Regions from separate parts of the Homo sapiens genome. Here region 1 is linked to region 2. Evidence: promoter capture Hi-C in 16 types of primary human blood cells and fetal thymus (Javierre and others, 2016). All regions are on one chromosome and are shown on one strand. Each heading gives the region's core, a stretch centred on a gene start or on the middle of the fragment in contact. The rest is flanking DNA. Distances are from core to core; before and after follow the strand shown. Region 1 overlaps TXLNG (taxilin gamma). Region 2 holds the start of ZRSR2 (zinc finger CCCH-type, RNA binding motif and serine/arginine rich 2).

Region 1 (6,026 bases), core at 1,961-4,460, 1.0 Mb after region 2:
TCTCTCCCTCTCTTTGTATTCTAAAAGAAAGATCCAGTGCTTGCAGGACTGAAAAAGAAGCTGTGGACCAATGTCCTGTAAGGGATTCAACACCATCACTTTGGACACTTCACTTATTCCCTAAGGGTGGAGTGCCAATCTCAGTGTTTGATTTCGTAGGTTCCCCAGGGGAGGAGGACTCTGATAAAAAGCCACTGCAATTGAGGATATAAGTTCCCTTTTATGACACTGGGATAAGGACAAAAAGTCGTTGAATTAGGAACTGAGGTTTAATCAACTAGCATTTAAAATAACCAAGATAGGAGGTAATGACCCTTTGAGGTGCAGAGCTCTGGTTAACAGCTGGATAGGAATAGTCATGTGTGTGTCTACTCATTTTTGTTTATGTACCTCATACTCCATTCTTCTTTGCTTATGCTCTTCTGAGCATCTTTTTCTTTTTGATTTCTAACTGACAGTGACGGCATTCAAATACATGGTAAAATATTAATCTTTGAATTTTCATTTAACAAATTGGGTGAATTATCTTGTGTTTGCAAGAATCATTTTTAAGCCAGCTATGGTGGCATGCACCTGTAGTACCACCTAGTCAGGAGACTGAAGCAGGAGGCTAGCCTGGGCCGCAGAGTGAGACCCTGTCTCTTAAAAAAACAAACAAACTTGTTGTGTTTTTTTTTTTTTTTTTTGAGTCAGAGTCTTGCTCTGTTACCCAGGCTGCAGTGCAGTGATGCAATCTTGGCTCACTGCATCTTCCACCTCGTGGGTTCCAGCGATTCTCGTGCCTCAGCCTCCTGAGTAGCTGGGATTACAGATGTGTGCTACCACGCCCAGCTAATTTTTATATTTTTAGTAGAAACAGGGTTTCACCATGTTGGCCAGGCTGGTCTTGAACTCCTGGCCTCAGGTAAGCCACCCACCTTGGCCTTCCAAAGTGGCGGGATTACAGGCATGAGCCACTGCAACTGGCCAAAAATTTTTTTAAAAATCATTTTTACATTACTTCATTGTGTCCCTTAATTTTAAAATTTCTTTTGGGTCACTGACTTGAAAAAATATTTCTTAATTCCAGCTTAACTTCTATCCTTTTTTTCAGGAAGCAGAAATGTTTAATGAATTGAGTTTTTTGAAAATATTGAAAGAATTAAAAGAAAAGTGAGTGTTTTGTCATTATCTAGTTACATTATGGGACCTGAAGTGAGGAACAATTGGAGATGGGCTTTTTTGGTTCCTGGTTGCTTTAACCATCTGCCTAGTCACTCGCGACCTGCTCAGTTAATTGTGGCATTGTTTCATAACTACAACCATTTGAATGGTCTCTTGAGGTAACCTTTTGCTTCTAAAGGTAATGTTACAGTACATTACTAGGGGTCTCTTCAGGAATTTTCTAAAACTGTGCTGATAGTAGCCACTAGTGACATGTAGCTAAATTTGTTAACTAAAATTAAAATTAAAAATTTTTTTCTTCAGTTATACTAACCAAGTTTCAGGTATTCAGTAGCCAGTGTGGCTAGTGGCTACTGTATTAGAGCAGATCTAGAATATTTTCATCATTGCATAAAAATTTTATCAGCATTGGTCTAAAAAGATGAGTACACAATATCTAGTATGTCAGGCATTTTTTAGAACATCAGGCTCATTCGTTTTACTTCCTAAATCCCTATGTAGAATTTGCTTTATAAGGTTGATTTAAAAAAAAATTAATAGACTTTTTTTGGGAATGGTTTTTAGTTTTACAGAAAAATTGAGTAGAAAGTACAGTTTCCATATACCCCCTCACACACACCCTTTCCCCCTATTATTATTATTATTTTTGAGATGGGGTTTCGCTCTTGTTGCCCAGGCTAGAGTGCAATGGCATGATCTTGGCTCACCACAACCTCCGCCTCCCGGGTTCAAGCAATTCTCCTGCCTCAGCCTCCCAAGTAGCTGGGATTACAGGCATGTGCCACCACGCCCGGCTAATTTTTTTTGTATTTTTAGTAGAGACGGGGTTTCTCCATGTTGGTCAGGCTAGTCTCAAACTCCTGACCTCAGGTGATCTGCCCGCCTCGGCCTCCCAAAGTGCTGAGGTTACAGGTGTGAGCCACTGCGCCCGACCCTTATCCCCTATTATTTACATCTTGCATTAGTGTGATACTTGTGTTAAAATTCATGAGCCAATATTGCTATATTATTATTGACTAAGTCCATAGTTTACGTTAGGGTTCACTCTGGTGCTATATATTCTATGCATTTTGACAAATGTGTAGTGACATGGATCCACGATTATAGTATCACACAGAAGAGTTTCACAGTCCTATAAATCCCTTGTGCTCTACCTATTCATCCCTCTCTCCCTTCCCCTAGACTACTGACAGCCACTGATTTTATTTTTTTTAAATTTTAGAGTTGGGGGTCCTGCTATGTTGCCCAGGCTGGTCTTGAACTCCTAGGCTCAGGCGATCGTTCTGCCTTGGCCTCCCAAAGTGCTGGAATTATAAGTATGAGCCACCACACCTGGCCTGATCTTTTTACTGTCTCCATAGTTTTGCCTTTTCCAGCTTGTCTAAGGTTGGTATTTTTTTTCTTTACTAGATTTTTGCTTGGGAATGTTAAAAATTATTTAACTACTATTAAACTAATTTTTAGGTCCATAAACCATGTGGAAGGATAATACAAGGTACCTAGGCCCAAATTAACAAAATCTTGCATTTACATAATGCCCTGTAGTTTTTATGGCACATTTGCACATACATTAACTCTTTCAGCACCAGTCAGATGCTGTGGAGAAGGCTGGGCAGCTTTCACTGCCCTCATTTGCTGATGACAAGCTGCTCAACGATGTTAACTCACTTGCCTAAGGGGTGAAGCTGAGTCTGGAACCCAATACTCTTTCATCTATACTACAGTAATGAGTAGTGTAGTACTGGGTAAATCTATGGATTTTGGAGTTGGGACTCCTGGCTTTCTGCCGCCCATAGCTCTGCAACCTTGGGCAAGTTTCTCAATCTTTCTAAGCTTCAGTTGCATCATCTGTAAAGAGGGGATAATGCTCATACCTACCACAGGGGATTACTGTGAAGAAGGAGTTGATGGGACACATTTGGCACAGTGTGGGATATGTAGAATTTTACATGGTTTGGAGGGGAGGACATATGGAAGAGATTAATTTCTCTTGCATTTAGGGTGCTAATTTTGTAAATCCATCTTCCAACCTTTATATTCTCTCCTCTTCCCAGAATCTCTCCGTGATAGACATAATGAGGAGAAATCAGGTCAGGGTTGGGCAAGAGTATGGGGGCAGGAAAAAGCCATTTCATTAATCTTGTTTTTCTCCCCATTTGCCAACTTGATGAACTTCCACTCTTCTGGTACAGAGATTAAGTAATGAGAAGTAAAGTAAAGTGATCTTCTGCTTACACCATTGTTTTCTAATTGTATCACCAAGCTTTGGTAAATTTATTTTTTTCTTTTACTGGGATCAAATAGGACAAGCAGTAATGAGAACAAACCAGATACAGCATATTCTGCTATTCATGCCACATTTTCATATCATATTATGTCATATTTATTATGTTATTGGAACGTGTTTTATTTATTTATTTTTAATTTATTTTGTTTTTTTGAGATGGAGTCTTGTTCTGTAGCCCAGGCAGGAGTGCAATGGCGCAATCTCAGCTCACTGCAACCTCCACTTTCCGGGTTCAAGTGATTCTCCTGCATCAGCCTCCCGAGTAGCTGAGATTACAGGCATGCGCCACCAGGCCTGGCTAATTTTTGTATTTTTAGTAGAGATGGGGTTTCACCATGTTGGCCAGGCTGGTCTTGAACTCCTGACCTCAAGTGATCCACCTGCCTTGGCCTCCCAAAGTGCTGGAATTACAGGCATGAGCCACCGCGCCCTGCCTGGAAGGTGTTTTATGTTATTTTGTGTGTTATTTATATTGGTCTTGCCTAGAGAAGTTTTGTTTAGGAAGGTATATATCAAATCCAAATGACATAAAACTGCTTTTGTGGGATTCTTCACAAGATTCACTATAATGGGCTTCTATTAAATAGATATGCTGTCACAGTTTTACACTTCTCAGAGTTATGTTTCAAAGGAAAGAAATTTGGAGACCTCAAATTTCATTTGTGTTTCATGCACTGTGTTAGTCACTTAAGGTGTGAATGCATTCTAATATCTCCTTAACTCTGCAAGGTAGGTGGTATCCCCAGGTATATAGATAAGGCATCTGAGTCTTAGTCAGAAACAAACTTGCTTGAATAATAGAGCCCACAGTTGGTGACGTTTGCTAGGGTTAGTGTATAGTTGTGTAATTGATAGTATGACAGATGTCTTCTAATGCCCAGGAAGTTTCTGCTTACCTCGTTAAGTTTTAACTTAATACCTCAAGAAATCTGTTTGCCTGTTCCTCCTCTTCCTGCTGCCCTCCCCCTAATTCCTCTTGTTTGGTTCTAATGTGATTATGAATAACTTTTAGTTAATATAACGGGTGTGTCAGTATTTATAAAGTATGGGCCAGGCATGGTGGCTCATGCTTGTAATCCCAGTGCTTTGGGAGGCCGAGACGGGAGGACTGCTTGAGGCCAGGATTTTGAGACCCGCTTGGGCAACACAGGGAGACCCCGTCTCTATGAAGAATAAAAAACTTAGCTAGGCACATTGGTATGTGCCTGTAGTTCCAGCTACTTGGGAGGCTGAGGTGGAAGGATCACTTGAGTCCAGGAGGTCAAGGTTGCAGTGAGCCACGATTGGGCCACTGCTCTAGCCTGGGCAAGAGAGTGAGATCCTGTCTCTAAAAAATAATAATAATAATAAAAATAAAAAGTATAGGCCAGGCACAGTGGCTCATGCCTGTAATCCCAGCACTTTGGAAGGCCGAGGCAGGTGGATCACCTGAGGTCAGGAGTTCAAGACCAGCCTGGTCAACATGGTAAAACCCCATCTCTACTAAAAATACAAAAATTAGCTGGGCATGGTGATGCATGCCTGTAATCCCAGCTACTCGGGAGGCTGAGGCAGGAGAATCACTTGAACTTGGGAGGCGGATGTTGCTGTGAGCCAAGATCGTGCCATTATACTCCAGCCTGGGTGACATAGAGGGAGACTCCGTGTCAAAAAAAAAAAAAAGTATACAATAATATACAAATTTAATATCATATTCATCAACATTGAGATGGGACATTTCTAGAAGAGGGTAGAAATAGGTAAGGTGACCTTTAAGATCCATTAAGACCCTGGGAGTACATTTTTATGTTTGAATCTACCTCCTAGTTGAAATTCTGTTGGCACTTATAAATACTTACATTTTATTACTTGAAGGAAAAGATACATAAAATAACTGGTGTTTTCCTCCTATGCTATCAAAATAATTGTATTAGCATTTATTGCTTAGGGTGTTGATTTGCATTCTGTGTTGCATTTCCAAAACGTCCCTAGAATGACCTCTGTTATCTCCTACTTCCCACCTTATAGTCTGTCCTGAGTAATATTTACTGGCTACTTTTTTTTTTTTTCATGTTTCTTCTTTCCCTACTCTCAAGGTAGTAGAATGGTTTGGCAAGAAAGATGTGCCAGTAGCTTAGAAACTCATTTCTTTATGGGTCTTTTGGATTGCAAAATGGGCCATATTAAAAGTGAGAATGAATGCATTTTGTAAAATATCTTTTTTTTTTTTCTTTTTTTTTGAGACAGGATCTCCCTGTGTTGCCCAGGCTGGAGTGTAGTTAACGCTTATTGCAGCCTTGAACTCCTGGTCTCAAGTGATCTTCCTGCCTCAGCCTTCCTAGTAGCTAGGACTACAGGTGTGTGTGCCACCATGTCTGGCTGTTTTTTTTCTTTTTTTTGAGAGACAGGGTCTTCCTATGTTGCGCAGGCTGGTCTTAAACTCTTAGGCTCAAGCATGATTCTCCTGCCTTGGCCTCCCAAACTGCTGGGATTACAGGCGTGAGCCACTGCACGCAGCCTGTAAAATGTCTTCATTCAAATATTATAACAGTTCTGCTATGTGTCAGCAGTTTATATCTATCAGCAATTTATACCT
Region 2 (6,383 bases), core at 1,941-4,440:
CCATATCAGGATATTGCATTCCCAGTGCATTCTACAGTTATTCTTAAGAACTACAAGCAAGGAAGAAGGGAGAACTGGGTCAGTCCAAGGCCACCTGGAGAACTGTCTTGTACATGGGTTAGGGTAAAGTTGGCTATTCTAAAACTAAGCATCCGCCCAAAAGAAGTCTTGGAAGATGTCTTTCCCTGTTAAATTCAGATGATGGTAATTATAGTTTGGAAGTGGAATTGGCTTTTAGAGTTACTTCCTGTAATGAAATTAACAAGCAATTCAGGCCTATTTCTGAAAATGAATTCAGTGGTTAATTGTTAAAAATAAATGTCTAACTCCTATAAAAGGAAATTTACATTCATTTCTAACTCACTAAAAAATCTATGGCCGGGTGCGGTGGCTCATGCCTGTAATCCCAGCATTTTGGGAGGCCGAGGCGGGCAGATTACCGGAGGTCAAGAGTTCGAGAACAGCCTGGCCAATATGGTGAAACCCCGTCTCTACTAAAAAATACAAAAATTAGCCAGGTGGTTGTGGCATGCACCTGTAATCCCAGCTACGCAGGAGGCTGAGGCAGAAGAATCGCTTGAGCCCAGGAGGCGGAGGTTGCAGTGAGCCGAGATTTCTTAGAAGGAATTGTTACTTATTGTTCTGAAGTGAAAGTCTGGTCTGATTCAGAAGAAATGTTACAACAACTTAAACACTGATGCTTTCAGAACGGGCAGCAATTCTCAGCGTAAATTCTGATCACAGGGACCAGCAAAATTGGTGAGTTGCATAGCTACAACATTCTGTGCCATCCAGGGCACTCTAGTTTGGGGATACAACTGCCAAACCTCCAACTAGAGAGTTTAGTTTAAGATTTAGTCAAGAAGCAGAAAGGTAAAGGTGACAATGTGTAGTAAACCATGATAGATGTTATAAAAGGTGGAATACTTGTACTGGAAATGCATACAGCGCCTCATCCCCTCTTGAGGGGTCAGGAAGTTTTCACACTAATGATGATGGTGATGAGATGATGTAACAGCTAAAGTTTTGGAGGCATTCACTATTGCTAGGCACTGTATCAGCATATAACATGGCTTATCTTACTCAGTTTTCACAATAAAAGGGTTATGAGATGGGAACTATTATTACTATCTTGATTTTTACAAATGAGAAAACAGGAGTAGACATTAAGGAATTTACTCAAGATCACAGCCAACCAATGCACTGAGCTGGACAAGGTCAACTTGGGGGTGAAGGGCATATGTGTTGCTCCAAGTGTGTCAGTATAAGAGAGATTAGGGTGAGGTTTTATGCAGAGTTTGGGCTTCAGCTGAGTAATTCTAAGGAGGGATTAGGGGAAGGAAGGCAGTTTAGTAATTGAGTATCTCAGAAACTTTAATTTGGAGGAGAACGGAACAAAGGTAGGCCAAGGAAGCTATTCAATCACTCAAAAGATAGAGGTTATTAGTCATTTTACAGCTGTAATGCATCCTTGTGAGGAACATTTTTTGCTTGGCCTTGTCCCTGGCCTTGTATGTGTACATTACAGTCTGATTATTAGTTGGGATGATTTTTAGTTTCTCAATCCCTACTCTCATTGCCCCAGTTTAATTCCTCAACACCTCTCACCTAGATTATTGTGATACTCTAGTTTTATCTTTTAAATCCTTTATATTGCAAAGCAGAGTGATTTACCTAAAACACAAACACAACCACAATAAGCCTCTATTTAAAAAGCTTTCAACGGTTCACTGTTGTCTCTACAGAATGTAAACAGAGCGTCTTAACATGGCACACCAGGCCCTCCTTAACCTAGCCCTCCCAGCCCATCACAACAACTATATTCCTTGATATTCTCGAATTGCACTTTATTTTGTTTTGTTTTTTTGAGACGGAGCCTTGCTCTGTTGCCCAGGCTGGAGGGCAGTGGTGCCATCTCGGCTCACTGCGGCCGCCACCTCCTGGGTTCAAGCAGTTCTCCTGTTTCAGCCTCCAGAGTAGCTGGGACTACAGGCATGTGCCACCACACCCGGCTAATTTTGTATTTTTAGTAGAGACGGGGTTTCACCATGTTGGCCAGGCTGACGAACTCCTGACCTCAGGTGATCCACCCGCCTAGGCCTCCCAAAGTGCTGGGATTACAGGCGTGAGCCGCTGCACCCAGCCTCGAACTGCACTTTAAATTGGATAGCTGGGCGGGCGTGGTGGCTCGCGCCTGTATTCCCAGCTACTCGGGAGGCTGAGGTGGAAGGATTGCTTGACCCCAGGAGGTCGAAGCTGCAGCGAGTCGTGATTGCGCCACTGCACTCCAACCTGGGTGAAAGACAAGACCCTGTCTCTAATATATAAGAAATGAATAAATAAATAAATTCGATTGCCAAAATTCTTGCTGTTCCCAGCATATTCCACTTTCACCTTTCAGCGCCTTTGCTTATGCTGATCTGACTGTAACTGCATTCCCACCCTTCTCCTTCTGGGTAAAGGGCATCTTCTTTCCAAACTCAACTCTTAGCATCAGAAAGCTGTCCCTGATACTGCAGTTGAGTCGCATGTGATACTGAAAAAAAAAGAAAAAAGGAAAAAAAAGAGAGCTCTCCCTGAATCCCTTGGTGGACTATGTTAGGTAAACTTCATCTTTGCCTGCATCATATTATGTATTGGTTCTTCTCTGCCCCCTCGATTGTAAACTCCTCAGGGGCAGAGGTAACAGCTTTGCAGCCCTGGGAGTTAGGTTTGCTTAAGGGACCAGAACAGGTGTGACTGGCAGGGAGCGAAGTCTGGAGCTTTGTCTGAGGCGCTGATAGGTGGATCGGCGGAAGGACGCGGAACCTGGACAGGTCGGAAATAAAGCCGGGCGAGCAGCTCTGTGCGCGATGTGACTTCATGAGTGGATGCTGAGAAAAGCGGCAGAGTACGACTTTAACCGCCTAGCCACAACACGTCCTGCTAGGGCGAGGAGGGAGACAGTGATACAGCACTGGGCAAGTGCTGAAGCGACAATTACTTCTAGGGCGGGGTAAAAGCCCCAGAGTATTTTTGCTGGAAGGAGGTATTTATTTGAGCAGGGTTCTGGAAGACGAGCCGCCGAAGGGTACCTCCGGCTTTCCGTTTCAAGTCCCACGCTGGTGGAGGTTGCTCGGTACCCGCGCCTGCGCGTGCCCGTCTCGACTCTTAGGCCCGCCCTTTCCTGCCAGACCTGGAGGGGCGGGGCGGTGCCGGCAAGATGGCTGCGCCCGAGAAGATGACGTTTCCCGAGAAACCAAGGTAAGCGCCGTACGGGGAGATGAGCAGGCGAGCGGGCCGATCGTGGGCATGGAGGATGTGGTGGCAGGAAGAAAAGAGAAGCTGGGCCAAGCTAAGTGAGCCACCGCGGCAGCTCCATTCCTTCCTGGTGCGCGCTCTGGTGCCCTCCCCGGACTTGCACGGGCGGCTGTGGCTCAGGCAAGCGAGGAGAGGATCAGGTTGGCGGATGGAGAAGAACTGTCTGGGAGTGGGAGGATGAGGCGATGATAGATGGCTGTTCTGTAATTAAAATACAGGAAGCAAGGTTTCTCTCCTCAGCACCCGAACTATTTCCTTTCATTGGGCACAGAGGAGCGGGGAGCTCGGGCAGCGCTGCATTGTAGCCGCTGATCGTCGTGTATATGTCTTAATCTTCCAGCCACAAAAAGTACAGGGCCGCCCTGAAGAAGGAGAAACGAAAGAAACGTCGGCAGGAACTTGCTCGACTGAGAGACTCAGGTGATGGACTCTTTATTCTGTTTTCTGTGTTGTGAAATTGCTCTGTCCACTCCAGCCCTAACTTGAAGCCCCAGTGTCAGAAGGAAGTCAAATATTGTGTCGGAGGAAAAATAGCTGTGACTTCTGCCCCCAAGTAGTTATTTAGAAACACATGTCAGAAACAATGTTAACATACTAAAGGCAGGAAGAGGAAGTCTTGGTGAATGATCGCCCACTGATTCTGTGTAACTTATAAAGTATCTAATATTACAGTTGCAAGCTTCATGAATTACAGCAGCTAGCACAGTCCTTGCACACGTAGTAAGTATTCGGTGAATGTTTTTCTTCGTAAAACCAGCAGGAGTTGAAGGTATTAATTAGACGTTTTGCAAGTTTTTCTCAAACTTGACTAATATGAGACCCTTGGTTTACCCAAATTATTATGTTATTCAAATATATATCAACATAATACTAGTTATGAAGCTCATTTATTTATTTTTGAGACAGGGTCTTGTTCTGTTGCCCAGGAGGGATGTGCACAACCACGGCTCACAGCAGCCTCCACCTCCCAGGCTCAAGCAGTCCTCCCACCTCAGCCTCCCTAGTAGCTGGGACTACAGGCATTCACCACCACACCTGGCTAATTTTTTCTTTTCTTTTCTTTTTTTTTTTTTTTTTTTTTGAGACGGAGTCTCGCTCTGTTGCCCAGGCTGGAGTGCAGTGGCACGATCTTGGCTCACTGCAGCCTCCGCCCCCTGGGTTCAAGCAGTTCTCCTGCTGCAGCCTCCCGAGTAGCTGGGATTACAGGCGTGCGCAACCACACCCGGCTAATTTTTGTATTTTTAGTAGAGATGGGGTGAAACCCCATCATGTTGGCCAGGCTGGTTTCGAACTTCTGACCTCAGGTGATCCACCCACCTCAGCCTCCCAAAGTGCTGGGATTAAAGGCGTGAGCTACCGCCCCTGGCCCACCTGGCTAATTTTTAAAATTTTCGTAGAGACGGGATTTCACTGTGTTGCCTGGGCTGGTCTCGAACTCCTGGCCTCAAGCAATCCTTCCACCTCGGCCTCCCAAAGTGCTGGGATTATAGGCATGAGCCACCACACCTGACCTGAAGCCATTGTTTGACTATAAAACAATATATGGGCTGGGCGCGTGGTGGCTCATGCCTGAAATCCCAGCACTTTGGAAAGCCGAGGCAGATGGATCACCTGAGGTCAGGGGTTCGAGACCTGCCTGGCCAACATGATGAAACCCTGCCTCTACTAAAAATACAAGATTAGCTGGGCTTGGTGGCAGGTGCCTGTAATCCCAGCTACTCAGGAGGCTGAGGCAAGAGGATCAGTTGAACCTGGGAGGCAGAGGTTGCAGTGAGCCGAGATCCTGCCACTGCACTTCAGTTTGGGCAACAGAGTGAGATTCTGTCTCAAAAAACAAACAAACAAATAAAAATACATTTATAAATTATAAAACTAAATGAAATTACACATTCGGTAAAATTTAAATCTACATCAGGTAATGCTAGGGATGATGTGAAACTAATGCTCCTCACAATATGTATATGGCACTGATGGGAGTTTGGAATGCCTCTACTAATGTTGCCTTATAGTTATTTACCACTTTTTCTATGAAATTACTGTAGAACCTTTATTTGTACAGATGGTCATTTGACCTTCACATGGCAAAACCTAACATTTATGTATTAAATCTACCTGCTTAATGCAATAAAATTAGGACTTAGTTATAAAATTATGTAGTAGTTATAAATCCAGATGGGAGCACTGAAATCACACAGTAGTACTGGCTTATAATGATTGTCATCCGCATTATCCAGAATATGCTCATGAAATTATCCTAGACAATTCTTAAAATCCAGAGACCATGGCCTCAAGTAACTAGGATTCTTGGACCTTGAGAAACATAGCCATAGAGGTTTTATTTACCATTGGTGTTCCTGAGTAATTATTTTAGTGTCAGTACTGGGATATTTAGAATGGAAGGAGCAGTGTGTTTAACTGCAACCTGTGTTAGCATTTCTGTCTTATTAGTTGAAAACTCATCCACTAGAGGCAGAACAAAGCATCAGGGATAAAAGGAAAAGTAGAATAGGTTGGAGTTATTGAGGCCCTTATTGTACTTCGTCTCTCCCCCCTTGAAATTTTCAGCTACTTTACTTTGTTCATTTAATCTGTTTTATTCTAAATATTATATATTCTAAATTTGTTTTAACTTCTTTCTCTTTTTCTTTTCCTGCACTAAATCCTATAACAGCTGGTATTTGTATTGTTTTGATTTTTTTTTTCCTTTTTACTTAGCAAAATGTGTTCAGAATGAGCCTCTGTGGAGAGTCAGGCGAGTCATGTCCCATGGTAGTTTAGCCCATTTTAATGGACTAAATCCAGGTCACTGGTCTGTCAAGATTATGTAACTAATGGCATATCCAAGACTAAGCACCTGTCTCTGCACTTCTGCTCCTACTTTTGCCCACTCCAACTCACAATTCTTTGCCTAGTGGTACTTCATGAATACTGTAGACTATGGAACACTCCTGGTTTTTTTTTTTGAGACAGAGTCTCACTCTCTCGCCCAGGCTGGAGTGCAATGGCACGATCTAGGCTCACTGTAACCTCTGCCTCCCAGGTTCAAGTGATTCTTCTGCCTCAGCCTCCTGAGTAGCTGGGAT

Evidence for each region. The method cuts DNA at HindIII sites, captures the fragments that hold promoters and counts their contacts. A CHiCAGO score of 5 or more calls a contact.
Region 1: a fragment that was not itself captured here is called in contact with the fragment with the promoter of ZRSR2 in region 2 in 5 of 17 cell types (total CD4 T cells, activated CD4 T cells, total CD8 T cells and 2 more); the score reaches 6.1 in total CD4 T cells.

What each region holds. Positions count from the first base shown.
Region 1 is chrX:16,788,000-16,794,025 of GRCh38, forward strand. All of the region lies in intron 1 of TXLNG (taxilin gamma), which reads left to right. Among named protein-coding and RNA genes, the nearest start is that of TXLNG, 4.5 kb to the left of the region's middle. RefSeq lists an enhancer at 809-1,309. The HindIII fragment of the contact is 430 bases long and covers 2,996-3,425 here.
Region 2 is chrX:15,787,294-15,793,676 of GRCh38, forward strand. It overlaps ZRSR2 (zinc finger CCCH-type, RNA binding motif and serine/arginine rich 2), which reads left to right and starts at 3,191. Exons shown (of 11, transcript NM_005089.4): 1 at 3,191-3,243; 2 at 3,641-3,720. The coding sequence starts at 3,203. It overlaps CA5B (carbonic anhydrase 5B), which reads left to right. Exons shown (of 8, transcript NM_007220.4): 8 at 1-1,118. CA5BP1-CA5B (CA5BP1-CA5B readthrough) reads left to right here. Exons shown (of 12, transcript NR_160544.1): 12 at 1-1,118. It overlaps INE2 (inactivation escape 2), which reads right to left and starts at 296. Exons shown (of 1, transcript NR_002725.2): 1 at 1-296. RefSeq lists enhancers at 3,069-3,518, 4,177-4,678. The HindIII fragment of the contact is 2,263 bases long and covers 1,715-3,977 here.